Linked DNA regions of Homo sapiens: region 2 is linked to region 1. The links are contacts of gene promoters, found by promoter capture Hi-C in human tissues and cell types (Jung and others, 2019). All regions are on one chromosome and are shown on one strand. The core of a region is centred on a gene start or on the middle of the fragment in contact, and the rest is flanking DNA. Distances in the headings are between cores, read along the strand shown. Region 1 holds the start of A2M (alpha-2-macroglobulin). Region 2 overlaps LINC00987 (long intergenic non-protein coding RNA 987).

The links. Contacts are between HindIII fragments. The study calls those that stand out against the background at their distance.
Region 2: a contact is called between a fragment that was not itself captured here and the fragment with the promoter of A2M in region 1, in 1 of the 25 tissues and cell types used here (hippocampus).

What each region holds. Positions count from the first base shown.
Region 1 is chr12:9,114,545-9,117,272 of GRCh38, forward strand. It overlaps A2M (alpha-2-macroglobulin), which reads right to left and starts at 1,375. Exons shown (of 36, transcript NM_000014.6): 1 at 1,220-1,375. The coding sequence starts at 1,305. It also overlaps a transcript of KLRG1 not described here. The HindIII fragment of the contact is 8,783 bases long and covers 1-2,175 here.
Region 2 is chr12:9,254,519-9,257,246 of GRCh38, forward strand. It overlaps LINC00987 (long intergenic non-protein coding RNA 987), which reads left to right. Exons shown (of 7, transcript NR_137434.2): 5 at 1,041-1,174. It also overlaps the pseudogene A2MP1. Among named protein-coding and RNA genes, the nearest start is that of LINC00987, 16 kb to the left of the region's middle. The HindIII fragment of the contact is 4,482 bases long and covers 1-2,728 here.

The DNA of each region.
Region 1 (2,728 bases), core at 125-2,624:
ATATCTTTCTCTTCTTTTTTCCTTTTTGAATTTGAATTTCCATGCCAATTACCATACAGAAATTTATCCTAAATTTTTATATTTCAAAAAATGTTGTGAATTATTCTTACTTCTTTATTGTCAAGCATCTATACATATACGTATGTATACTTATGTTCACATATATACATATATGAATACATATACATAAATACATATATATGTAACATATGTGGGTAGGTAAATTTAACTTTAACTCCTCTTTTAAATAGAATGTAACCATAAATTTATAAATATTAAACATTTCCTTCTGACTGAGCTATGTTCAAAAATACTTGTATATAACTGATCAAAACAAAATAAATACAAAGTATGATTCATACATATTAGATATAAAATTAAAATACTTTTGAAGCACATCTTTAATGAGAATGATGAGCTGTTTTTTCCCCCAGTGAATTTATGCATCCATGGATTGCAAGAATTAAACAACATTAATTCTGTTACTATTTTTGTTTTGTGTAGCTATAAGTGCTAAGAAGAATGGCTCACATAAAAGTAAATAAATGGCAGGTAAAACAATTGCATCATTGTTACCACTTCTTGCAACTTCTGCATTACATGCCAAAAATCACCTAGTACTCTATTATCAAGAATCCCTTCTCATCACTCATCAGCTGGTATTTCCTTCAGTTCCTCCTTCAGTTGTGTTGAAACAAAGAATTCATCACCACCTCATCTGCAAAAGGATTTCTCTTCTGACATTAGAGTCCCTTGCTTTTTCAATATCAACACCAGTATTTCAAATTGTTCCTTTATTTGGCACTCTATAGATTTTTATACTCCAGGGCATTGTTCCATGTTTGGTTGTGGGAGAGAATTGTCTTTATTTTTATAAAATAGAAAATGGACCCTTGAGAAAGAGGAAATAAGAAAAGATAAATAGCATGGTCTCAAGTAGATCAATATGAATGTGAATATCTAAAATTTATTCTTTTAAAAAGCTAAAAATTTCTGACACCCCTTAGGAAGGCTTTGCATATTAGAGCTTCAGAGAGTTGGGGAAGAATGATTAAAAGTAAGCAAGTAATGAGTAAACTAGATTTGTAAAATCTGGAAGGAATCTTAGAGATAAGAAGATGACAGTATCATAGGAAAGAAAAAGGAATGATATAAAGAAAAATCTGCAATAAATGAAGGACTCTAGGTTCATGCTTCACGCTCTCTGTGTGGAACTCACGGTTTTCCAGAGACTGAGGCGTCTGTGGGCAGGAGGACCAAGAGGAGAAGAACCAGACTTGGATGAAGGAGTTTGTTCTTCCCCATGTTGCAGAAAGAAGGAGCTGGAGGAGAACAGACTGTATTGTACCCTACTCCCTACAATCCATCTGGTCCCAAACACTTCCCAAAGCAACTGGGCTTTATGCTGCTCTGTGTGCAAACAGGAAGTTCCACCCACACAAGATCTCTAAACAAAGTTGAGGTCTCTGAACATTCTCTGGAAAGGTCATTGATGGCCTATTTATAGTCAAGGTTAATTCCTGGCGGGCTAAATAGAATCCCTGGAGGGCTAAAACTACATTCCCATTCCCGTAAGAGCTCACTTTTACCGTACAGCAGCTAATAAGCTTTTCAACCTCTTCTCTCCCTCACTCCCCCACAACTCCTCACAACGCCTTTTATGGTGCTTCTCACATCTCTTGTATGAATAGCTGGCAAGGAAAACTACAATTTAAGCAACACTGGGCAGGCTCAAAATAGATATTTCACTACAAGTCAGTGTGGCTGCAAGTTCTCCATTAGATATGCCTAACCTAAATGTTTGAAGCCACATCAGAATTCAGTAGTCCTCTTTGAAAATGGCACGAATTAAACCAGTAGCTTTTTGACATTAGGGATATTACTGGGTTGCAGATGAAGAGCCAGGCCCTGGAAGAATGATCATAGAAAAGAGTTTCCTGTTTTAAGAAAGTGAAACAAAGAAACGTGAAGTAACAGGACTTCAAAAACAAATTTTGACCTATTGTGCCTAACAAACTTCCCAATTGCCTTTACCATCGACTACACAGACTTCCTTACTGCCTTCCAAATATGATACTCCTCTGCAAACTTTAAGTCATATAAATGATTTCATTAATCCATCCATCCACCCATGCATTTATTCATCCATCTATTCATGTAGCTATTCAGTTGCTTTGTAAGTATTTTTTGATCCTACTAGGGCTAGACATCATGCAAGATTCTAGAGATAGGGTGGTCAAATAAGTATGAAAACAGGCACTTAAAGATTTTACATTCTTGTTGGGGCAAAAACAGACAGAAAAACAACTACTGTATAAAATACAATATAACACCTACTGTATAAAATACAGTATAAAATACAATATAAAACTACTGTATAAAATACAGTAGCCAAACATATTATTGCAGAAGTTCAGGATGCTCTGGGAGCACATAAGAGAGCACATAACCCAGACCTGGAACCTTTTAAAAAAATTTTGAGGGAAAGCAAAATGTAAATTAAGCTCTGAAGTATGAGTAGTGGTTGTCTCGAAGAACAAAGAGATGAAAAGAGCTTTCTAAGCATAACGAATGACAGATGCAAAGGAGGGAGAAGAATCACGGCACATGCATGAAATGAAAACTATTTGGTATGGAGGAAATATTCCTTTCTGATACTTCAAATCAGAAAGGAATTTGTCAACAATATTAAGGTATTCAGAGGAGTACTCAGTGGATTGACTTCAGG
Region 2 (2,728 bases), core at 94-2,593, 140 kb after region 1:
CAGTATGTTTAGCTAAATAACATCTGACTTAGGTTGCTAAATTTCACTATGACAATCCAGCTTTATGGTCTACTGAATTTAATATAGCAGTTTGGAATCACTTATCATAAGACATATATGAAAAAAATCAATAATTATTTATCTTCAAGATGCAATAGTATTCATCTTTCTAACTCAATATACTATGAAAACATTGCTTATGGAGAATCTCTTTAAAATATATTTGCTTTTATTTTTAGAAAATTTAAGTTCATTAAAATATGTTAGTTACTGTCCATGTCAAAAGAACAGGTAATTTGGGATTATAATAAACTAAAAACACTATTAGCAAGAAGTGGACATGTTAGAAAATAGAAAATGTTTTACTGATATGAAAACCAAAACATAACTTTAAGGCATATTTCAAAGGAGTCTGTACCTCATATATTATATTAATTACTACCAATGTTATTCTTAATGAATAATTATATCTGGTTGAGTATAACAAATGATTCCAACTATTACATAATTTTTAATGTGTATGCCAAATCTGTTGTAAGTGAAGAAATAAGTATATGAAGTTTGAATAGAAAACTATTTTTCTCTGTCTCAGCAAAGATTGAAAAAAATTTAAATGTATCGTTTTGCAGGGATGCATGTCTGACTTGGGGTCTTTCCTCACATCCTCAGTGCACTATTTATTTGCTCATCATCCCACCAAGATGTCTAACTTTTAGGGTGCTTAATTTGTAATTTTAATAGATCTACTGTTTTTCTAATTTTTGTGGTAGTCAACTTTCTTCTGAATCTTCTTATGAATCTTTGTTCATATTATTTTTTACAGCTGATCTTCAATTCTGATCAATGATGATTTTAAAGGTATTTAACGTGAAGTGATTGAATATAATGTCCGTGGGCTTTTACTTCTATGGTGAAGTTTTATACTGTTGCACAGGGACTGTCATATGTTTTGCAAAATCAGAATTGTTTTTCAGACTGGATTCCAGGGAGAAAATTACTTTTCTGCCAATTCTGTTTTATAATGCTTCTCTCATTTCTAGGGTGTGAAGAGGATACTGACCCACCAGAAAGAGACCCCACTGCTAGAACGAATAAGATGTGCTGAAAGCCGGAGCATAACTTGGCCATTCCCAAGATTTAACAACAAACTAACTACCCATCATTAACAGTAAAGGTATTGAAGCATGAAGGAGTCTCTTCTCAGTGGGTATGAAACACACAGAAGTCCAAACAGAACAGACACTAAGCTTCTTGGACACACCATCCAGGTTTAATAGCACTCTTTAGTAAGGTGGAATTAAAGGTTTACATCAGAATACACTGTGTATTTTTCTTATTTCACTGTATATTTAAAACAAGACAACCTAAATATAGATCTCAGGGCAGAAATGTTCACTTGCTATAAACACATTTTGTTTTAATCTCCACAAAGCCCATGTTAAAAAAAAAATCCTTCCAGGTGTATTTGAAAACAGGCATCTGAAGTAGGCGGCTCTTATCTGATCGCTAATGTTATGATTATGCTGCTAGAGTAGTGAAAATCAGATAAACAGCACCAAGTTCTGTTGGAATAAAGCATACTTATATCTCAGTGAGCTTCACATGGCAGCTTTGTATTCCTTAAATAAAAAATATGCCATCTGAACCTATGTTAAATTTTTGTGCTATCATTATTTTTAAAGTGTCCAGGCTGTTTCTCATCTGTTCTGTATTATTAAGCTGAGTTTAAACTCATGACAACCTACTGCTGTCTGTAGTGGTACATGGAAGTGTGCCAGTGTATGATGGGGTAAAATTGGCACAGCCTTGTGAGGCATCATTTTTAATCAAAATATTAGTAACAAAACATTTTAAAATTAAAACTATTAAAGGCTTATAGGTGACTTGATTTTGAAATTCATATGAATTTTATAACAAAACAAGAGACTTTTAAAAAACTGTGTTTGTGGTTGCCTGTTTTGGATGTCAGCACTAGACCTCTCAGTATGACATCACCCCCTGCCTTTAGAAGTAGCTGGGAGGAATGTTTTAGGAGCACTGTATGCCTAATTTCCTAATTTCCTTCTTTTCCACACATCACAATGGGAGAAGAATAAAAGGACTAGTCTTAAACAAAACAACCCACCTTGTTGGCAAAACAGTTTTCAATCTCAAGCTTGTCAGTGTCTGCAACAATTTCTCCATTAGGTAAAACAGTGTAAACAAGCAGATGAGCACTAGGAGCAGAGTCTGATTCCACTCGAAAGGAGAAGGAAAACACCCCTTTCACTGGAGAATTTAAAAAGAAGAACAAGTTCAGAATAACACATTAGCAACAGAATTATCAATTTGATTTTTTAAAAAGGCATTTCCAACTATAGACTTTATTTACATTTGGATCACACTGAAGTAAGAAAAGACTTTATACCACTGTGCAGGTAGTAGTGTTCAATAAATATATGCTGAGCTAATGACATTTTCCCTTAAAGATATAGGTTTAATTGTTCATTTCCTCTGTTTAAGTAGGAAAAAGACATTTAATGCTTGTCTCTATTTCTAAATTGAAAAATATTATTGAGAAAGGAGTCAAGAGAGAAGAAAGAGAACTTCTAGACATGTTTGGTTATAATTCTTGTGTGTGTAAGGGCAATATAAACAATGCAACAGTCTTTTCCTTCAGGCCATTTATAATACAGCAGGGATACAGATACAAATCACATAAAAAGCCTTGTGAGCCTTTGATTTTTAT